Linked DNA regions of Homo sapiens: regions 1 and 3 are each linked to region 2. The links are contacts of gene promoters, found by promoter capture Hi-C in blood cells and fetal thymus (Javierre and others, 2016). All regions are on one chromosome and are shown on one strand. The core of a region is centred on a gene start or on the middle of the fragment in contact, and the rest is flanking DNA. Distances in the headings are between cores, read along the strand shown. Region 1 overlaps LOC105370839 (a long non-coding RNA gene). Region 2 holds the start of FOXB1 (forkhead box B1). Region 3 has its middle 84 kb from the start of BNIP2.

Evidence for each region. The method cuts DNA at HindIII sites, captures the fragments that hold promoters and counts their contacts. A CHiCAGO score of 5 or more calls a contact.
Region 1: a contact is called between a fragment that was not itself captured here and the fragment with the promoter of FOXB1 in region 2, in 1 of 17 cell types (activated CD4 T cells). The highest score is 5.4, in activated CD4 T cells.
Region 3: a fragment that was not itself captured here is called in contact with the fragment with the promoter of FOXB1 in region 2 in 1 of 17 cell types (non-activated CD4 T cells); the score reaches 5.4 in non-activated CD4 T cells.

Annotation. Positions count from the first base shown.
Region 1 is chr15:60,169,131-60,172,016 of GRCh38, reverse strand. All of the region lies in intron 1 of LOC105370839 (a long non-coding RNA gene), which reads right to left. Among named protein-coding and RNA genes, the nearest start is that of FOXB1, 170 kb to the right of the region's middle. The HindIII fragment of the contact is 4,724 bases long and covers 1-2,886 here.
Region 2 is chr15:60,002,919-60,005,618 of GRCh38, reverse strand. FOXB1 (forkhead box B1) reads right to left here and starts at 1,308. Exons shown (of 2, transcript NM_012182.3): 1 at 976-1,308; 2 at 1-712. The coding sequence starts at 655. RefSeq lists an enhancer at 1,112-1,627. The HindIII fragment of the contact is 10,028 bases long and covers 1-2,700 here.
Region 3 is chr15:59,772,022-59,774,854 of GRCh38, reverse strand. No RefSeq gene overlaps it. Among named protein-coding and RNA genes, the nearest start is that of BNIP2, 84 kb to the right of the region's middle. The HindIII fragment of the contact is 5,162 bases long and covers 1-2,833 here.

The sequences.
Region 1 (2,886 bases), core at 209-2,708, 170 kb before region 2:
AGCTATGTTGAAAAGAGGGTCAGGACGGTTAGAATCCATAAATACTTCTCCTTTTGGTTCAAAAGTATGTAAGTATCTGCTTAGAATTAATCCTCTTTCAGGTTCCTTACAGTGCATCATTTTTCATTCTGAGGGTTTTCCGCTGCTTGGAAGAAAATTTTCCAAAAGAGGGCAAACCATAAGCAAAATAAAGAAAAGACTGCAATTTGGTTTTGACAACTTAACTTCCCTTTAAATGTCCATTTTCACCTACTTTGTATTTCCTTTATATTCCTCAACCTTGGGTACTGGTAGCTTTCAAAGCATGCTTTAGTTAAATGACAACAGCTTAAGTTACTGCTTTTCCTAGTGACTCAACGGGGACTCGTAAATGCAAATAAATTAATTTATGGTAGGAGAATTTTAGATGTCATAATGGAGTGGGTGGGTTCATGATACCTGGAAGGTCTCAAATTGCACTCATTCATCAGGCCAGCCTTGTTGCTTGACCATCTCATATAGATCGGCCCTTACAACTCTGTTGGAGGAATGTCAGTTGACTGGTGAAGAGATATTAAGAAGTGGTCTGTGTGATGCCTGTTGCTATATGAGTGGTTGTCTCATCACATAACCTCATTTGGGAACCTCATCCTGAAACAAGAGATCACTCTCAGTTTTATGTTCTTTACCCAGCCTTGGTATTTCTAGATTCTATCCATGTCATCTAATTCTAGACTTGGAACTAAGACCCATGCTTTCTGCCATAACCATGGAAAGAAGGATCTTCTACAGGTATGATTTATTTTTAAAGGGCCATGGGCAGGATTCCTAATGGGAAAATCATCCCAGACAAACTTTTGTTAGCAAAGGTGGGTGTGCCAGTGCAAAATGTCCAGATGATTTAGACTAATTCATGTCCCAACTCATGTTCACATTAGACATCCAGTATTTGAGGCTATTTATCTTTTAACATCACAGTTACCTAAGAGAACATATTAGGGCAGACGATGTCAAAAGAAGGGGGAGAGGTATGTAGGGATCTCAGTTCACAATGTGAAAAGTGAATGAGTGAAAGTATCATATCCTCTTGACTCAAAAGTGTACCTTAAGAAAATGAAGTTAATGTTTTATAGTTCATAAAATCATGTTACAGTTCATAAATATGCTTAATATAGTATTTTGTTATTTTCTTCCATACTCTCCATGATTAAATACTGTAATCAATATTTCCTTAGAGTTTAGGAGATACCATTCATTCCTTCTAGGCTAGAATGTCTTATTCACAACTTCTTGATTGTATTTTAGCTTGTAAAACCACCACCACTAAATCTCTTCTATAGCTGATGAGAGGAAGGCCAGGCAGCTCTTTAAAAAATGAAAGTATTTAAATTGGAGAAAACCCAGCTTAAACATGGCAAGTGGCTGAACTGAAGCTGTCAAGGCCAAGCTGTTGTGAATGGGAACCTAACTCAAGGTCCTGTGGCAGACATCAAGTTAAGGGTGTATCCAAAGTTAGAGGCCAGGGCAGTAAAAGACAATGGACAAATTCAGAGTAACACAGGTTTCAGAAGCAGAATTTGTAAAGAATGCTGGGAGCAAAAGTGTTAACTGTGAAGGAATGGGATGATTGGGGAAAGAAACTTAGACATTCTTACTTTTAGGCTGGGCATGGTGGCTCATGCTATAATCCCAGCACTTTTGGAGGCTGAGGCCAGAGGATTGCTTAAGCCCAGTTCAAGACCAGCCTGGACAACATAGGGAAACCCTGTCTCTCCAAAAAATAAATAAAATTAGCCAGGCATGGTGGCACATGCGTTTAGTCCCAGCTATGCAGGAGACTGAGGTGGAAGGGTTGCTCGAGCCTGGGAGGTGAAGGCTGCAGTGAGCTGTGAATGTGCCACTGCACACTCCATCTTGGGTGAAAGACTGAGACCCTGCCTCAAAAATCAAAAAAATTCTTACTTTTAATTTGTGTGCTTCAGGTGCTATTTTATAATGAGCTTATAATTTTTTAATTTAAGAAACTATAAAAATAATTTAAAAGAAAAAATATACCCCAGAAGTAAAAGTGGCTTGCAACTGCTGAGGTGCAGGCCTGGCAAATCTAGAATAACTTATTAAGACAATTATTAGCAACTGCCCTACTTCTATATGCCCATCCTACAACTCTCTGTCTCTTGGGCCTGCCCCTGACAACATGGGACCCAGACAGTCTCTCATCGCAATAAGACTCCTCCTCCAGTGATTCCTCAAGCAGTGATTGAAGGAAGCGGTCTACCTGTAGGCCATACAGACTACTGGATCAAAAAGCACCCAGGAGGAGTCAGTGGTTGAGGTTTGCCTTCTGTAAACCTGGAAGGTTACATGGCTTGTTGCATGCTAATGGCAGAGAGGAGAATCAAATGCCCTGTTATATGAAAACAAATATTAATTTTCCCATTGCCGTGGTCTGAGTGCGACCCCAAAATTCATATGTTGAAACTTACTTGCCAATGTGATAGTATTAAGGGGTGATTAAGTCATGAGGTCAGAGCCCACATAAATGGGATTAGTGACCTTATAAAAGAGGTGCTAGGGAGCTGTTCATGCTTTCTGCCATGTGAGGATGCAGCGACATGGTGCCATCTATGGAGCAAAGGGGGAGGACTCATCAGACATTGAATCTGCCAGCATGCTGATCTTGGACTTTCCAGCCTGCAGAACTGTGACAATTAATTTCTATTATTTGTAAATTACCCAGTTTAAGGTATTTTGTCATAGCAGCCAAAACAAACTGAGACACTCATGCTTTAAGGCCTTTGGTCAGTGTCTACCTGGAAAGGAGCCTTGTTTGCCCTCAAAGGCCAAGAACTGAGAAAGCTAGACATCACTAATGCTCATGTTTCCTCGTGCCATGTCCAGGCAAAC
Region 2 (2,700 bases), core at 59-2,558:
ACACGTGTGGCCAGCCGGTGCCCAGCGAGCTGCCCATGGTAGTCAACTGGTTGGGGAGCGGGTAGGCAGCGGGCACCGGCTGCATGGCGGAGAAGGCCAGCCCCCCAGGCATCTTGTATTCCCGCGCGATGATGTTCTCGATGGCGAAGGGGTGCTTGAAGCCCGAGGGCTGCGCCACGCCGCCCAAGTTGTAGGCGGCGGCGGGCATCTGTGGCAGGTGCGTGCCCGAGGCCGCCAGCGCGCTGAGCCGCAGCTTGGCCTGCTGCTGCAGGTACTGCGCCGCGTCGGCTGGCTTGCTGGGCGCCAGGTGGTCGGACTTAAGCACCTTGAAGCGCTTGCGGCGCCGCAGGAAGCTGCCGTTCTCGAACATGTCCCCGCAGCTTGGGTGCAGCGCCCAGAAGCTGCCCTTGCCTGGCTGGTCCGGCCGCCGCGGGATCTTGATGAAGCAGTCGTTGAAGGAGAGGTTGTGGCGCAGACTGTTCTGCCAGCGCTGCGTGTTCTCCCTGTAGTAGGGGAAGCGGTCCATGATGAACTTGTAGATCTCGCTCAGCGGCAGCATCTTCTCGGGAGAGCTCTGGATGGCCATAGCGGTCAGCGAGATGTACGAGTAGGGCGGCTTCTGGTCGCTGTACGTGTTGCGGCCGGGCCGAGGCATCTTCTTCCTCGCCCTCTTCTTGCTCTGGGTCCGCGCGGGCCGGCGGACTGCTCGGATCTGGGAAGGGGGTGGGTAATAGGGAAAGGTAGCATGGATGCACAGAGACACCGGCGGGGTCAGCCAGACCGAGTAACAGACTTCGGGGGTCGGGGGTGGGGCCTGCGGCGCTCGATCAGCCAGCGCCCGGACTCTTTCGCCAGCAACTTTGCGGGCTTAGTGGGCGCGGGAGGGGAAGCCGGCGAACGGCGCGAGGATAGCCGGGAAGTAAGTCGGTACTGGGGCCAGAATAGGGGGCAGGGACGGAACAGAGAGCTGCTCACCTTAAAGTTGCTTCAAGTTGCGCGTCCGCATCCGGGAGGACGCCGCTGCGCGCCGCTTCTCTCTCGGCGCGCACTCGACGCGCACTCCGCGCGCAGCGTCCGGGTCCGGTTGGACTCGGCGCGAACCTGGGCTCTTGAGCTCAGCCCCGCAGCGTCCCGTGCCGCCCGGTCCGCGACGCTCCTGGAGCGTCCTGCGGGCGGCCGAGCTCGGCTGCGGAGTCCCGGCGCGGATGGTGGCAGCGACGTGTTAGGGCTCCGGAGGGCGCTGCTGTGGGCTCCGCGTCTCCGCTGAGCTAGGTGGCTGCCTCCATGTCCTCCCTCGAACCATCTGATAGTTTTAAGCGGTGACAGGAGCAGAAAAGACCCCTGTAGCGGCGCTTCATTAATGTGCCACTTCTTAGCTATCATATGACAATCGCCTTGGGAGGAGGAGGAAGAGGAGGGGGAGCGGGGGCTGCAGAGGGAGGGGACTGAGCGAGAAGGGAGAGCCCGGCCAGCTCTGGTTTCTTTCACACCTATTTACATGGACACCTTGGCCAATAGGAATCACTTCCAGCTCAAGACTGGGCGAGGGGGAAGAGCCTCGGCCACTGGGCAGGCAGCTGGACGCGCCGGCCGGTGTGCGCCGTGTGAAGGTATGAGGAAGCGGCCGCCGCGGAAGAGGGAGCCAGGCGACCACTCACGTTCACAGATGGAGCAGCCGCGCGGATGATGTTTGACATGGAAATTGCTTGGCTGGGGTATTCTGTTTCCTCTGCGTTGTATCCGGTTTGTATCGTTAGGTAACTTTAGGCACGGCTTTCCCCTGAAGCCGACCCTTTTCCTGCGCTTAGCACTACCCGGGGTTGGTTGCATGGGTTATAATAATGAAAACACACCCTTGCCCCCCAGTCCCCGGAGAGTTAGGTCGAAATTTGACTTGACTTTCCTATGCAGCTGCTTCAGCTTTGTATAGTTAGTGTGTAGCTTTGAAAAAGTGATGGGGTTTACAAATACTTTCAAAATGTGATTGGACATCCCCATGTAAGAACCCATTTTGAATGTAACTGTATTGACCAAATTTTTAAAAATTAAAATAGTGTATCTGGGCGAAGAGTCCAGGTATTTGCTTTAAAAGTCCTCCGGGAATTTGGTTGGACACAGGATGGAGGCTCAGGAGCTGTTGGGGCAAATGTTGTGCGGACCTGGGGAGGGCCTGAGTTTGTTTGACACAGTTTATCACCAGGTAAGCCTCAGGGGCTCTCGCTTTTCCCAGGTGGTTTGAAACTTTAGGACTCAGGCACATCCTGGAAGTTTTCATTTTACACCCGGAACTCCCCTTCCCAGCCCTCCCACCCCCCCAACCTCCCACCCCCCATCCCCCAACTGCCGCTTTTTTTGGTATGGAGAACTTATTTAGGATTTAGAGTGTAGCAAAAGCCGCCTGCGATCCCACTAAGACAGCAGTATCTTCTACAACTTGGGGAAAGAACCATAGAGTTTTCCTTCTTGGGGAGCGGGGAATGTGCCTTGGGTCACTCCGCCTGGTGCGAGCAGCAGGCTCCCTTCGGTTCGGATTCGCCTTGGAAGGGTTAAATGAATCATTATTATTATTATCATTATCCTCATCGTCGTCGCTGCCGTCATCATCATCATCATCAAATTGCTATGAAATAAATAGTGAGTCGACCCCGCCTGCATGCACGCACTCTATAAGTACACACCAGGAGTTCCCACGGGTTTCTG
Region 3 (2,833 bases), core at 254-2,753, 230 kb after region 2:
CTGGCCATGTGAAGAGGAAGCTGAATGTCTCATCATCTCCTTCCATCTCAGGGGACCACTACGAAGTTCCCCAGCTCATATGTCTGGAAGTACTGCTTCCTACACCTGATTTCGTTCTCAGACACATGGCTTGGATTATCTCAATACTTATATTCTATTTGGCATATACTGTCTGGTTGGACACAGGTATACTTTGGTGATCTCTTAATATTTATGGAGTCTGCCTTCTCCATGGTGGTGTTAATTGTCTCTGAGGACCTAAATCCCAGGAATAGTGACAGAGTCAATGGGGTTCTGTTTGGAACTTTTATGCAATGTGCAGATGGCTTCTCTCAGGGCCGTTCTTGTAAACACAGACATATTAACTTAAATAGAAAATGCCTTGCAAGACGCATTTATGAGCAGAAATTGGTGGTGCTGAATGGTAAGATGTGGGAAAAACATAGAGAGAATCTTCTCTGTATTTTAACTCTAGCGCTCAGAATCTTATATCACATTAGACTCTGTGATTATTTTGGTAAGCTGCCTTAAATCCTCTCTGGAATCATGGTAGGCATATACATGTACAAGCAAATAAACAAATCCATACATAAACAAACAGGTAGAATGTATTGAGTCTCACTATTTGGCAGTTAATGTGCTGGGTGTTTTTCACATAACTGTTTCCTTTAATCCTCACAACAAACTGTTGGTCATACATCCTAACCCCAGTGATTTGTCAGATATTTACTGGAAGAGATAGGGCCATGTGGGCCTTCTACTTTTCATGCCTCTGCAGCAAGCAATACCAAGGAAACCAGCAAGGTGAGAGGGAATGACACAGCCGCTAGGAGAACCTCTAAACAAGGCAGAGGAGGTGTGTACTTGAGAGTTAAGGCTTGATTTTCCTGATTGCTAAAATTGCTAAAGAAAATGGCCCTGCTTCTATTTTCTTCCTGGTGGCTTTTCCTGTATATACTTTAAATGGAAAATATCACTAAAAGGATGACTGGCCAAACGGGGCAAATAGGGAGAAAAACTTTCACTTCCCTTTCCGCTTGAACCCCAGGTCCTTGTATTTCAGCATGTGTCTACAGTGAGATTCCATCCTGTTCATTTGTTTTTGTTTTTGTTTCTGTTTTGAGACAAAGTCTCACTCTGTCACCCAGTCTGGAGTACAGTGGCATGATCTCAGCTCACTGCAACCTCCGCCTCTGGGTTCAAGCGATTCTCCTGCCTCAGCCCCCCAAGTAGCTGGGATTATGGTGCACACCACCATGCCTGGCTAATTTTTGCATTTTTAGTAGAGACAGTTTTCACCATGTTGGCTAGACTGGTCTCGAACGCCTGACCTCAGGTGATTCACCCGCCTTAGCTTCCCAAAGTGCTGGGATTGCAGGCTTGAGCCACCGCTCCCCACCAGCCTCTTCATTTGGTATCACGGGCACTGTGTTTTTCATAATTCTTCCACAAACCTCAAAGAATTAAAAGGTTGTCCTTTTAGGATGTAACAGATCTTTCATTTGCATGATTAAGTCTCACGCAAATGTGAAGATGGTAGGAAACCCATTTTCGCATTTGTAGGCTGTGTGACATAGTGAGGACTAAAATGCATGTCGATGTCTGATCTTCCTCTCTGAGGTAGTCAGAAGCTCGGGTCTCTGATTTGGCTCTGAGACCCTGATCTGGTAGGGCAAGGAGTGAGCTTCTGAGAAACCACATCCCAAAATAAGTGTCGGTCATGTACCGAAAAGACAATGCAAACAGAGTGATAGAAAGGCAGCAACAAAAGGGAATTAGAACCAGCACAGAGAAATATGAGTGGCTCAGATTCCCTCTGGAGAGATTCACCATGGAGTCAGAATGAAGAGGTTGAATGAGGTGTTTTACAGAGCCCATTGGGTGGGGTGGAAGCTGTTAACAGCACTGTTGCAGGCACAGGAAACTAGGTCTCCCTATGCACCAGGCAGAAACTCCATAGATATTAAACAAAAGATTTAATTTTTTTCAAGCAAAACAGCCTGTCCTAATGGCTATTAAAGCAATGAACAGTCAGAACTCTGTTGTACAGGTAAATTGCAGCTGACTGTTTCAGTTATTGGCTGTCAGAGAAACTAGATGTCAGAAAAGTTCTGTTGTCATTTAGATTCTCAGAAAGTTTACGTTGTGTGTGTGTGTGTGTGTGTGTGCAGTCCTGCACACAGATACACACAGTTCTAAGAAGCATACAGTAGGCAAACAAGAAAAAAATTAAGCCAGGTATGGTAGTGTGTACCTGTAGTCCCAGCTACTCTGGAGGCTGATGCAGAAGGATCATTTGAACCCAGGAGGTCGAACCCCCAGTGAGCTATGAGCATGCACTCCAGCCTGAGCAACAGAGGCTCAAAAAAGAAAAGAAAAGAAGAGAAAAAATAAAAGAGTCTGCATTGTACCAAAACCACCAGTTCCCTCTGTGTGTTCATTGAATTCACTGAACAAAAATAGTAATATAATGTATTCTGCTGAACCAGACAGAAAGTAGTTCTTTTCAACCTAACAAGTAACATGTCATTTATGTTGTGTCTCACACAGCGTCTGGTGCGATAGTACATACAGCAGGAATGCATAAAATAGTCTTTAATCCTTTGTGAAAGCTAACATTTAGTCACATCAAACAGATCACTTCTCAAAACAATGGTAACCTTTCCCAAGTGCCAAATTACTTTTGCCATAACATTCCATTTCCATTGTTCCTTAGCGTAGTCAATTCCATGGCTTAGAAGATGTCAGGGGGTTCAGTTTCCTCTCCTTTGGCAGAGTTTGACATACAGTATCATGTTCTTCACTGTAAGCCCTCCTTAACGCAACCAATAAG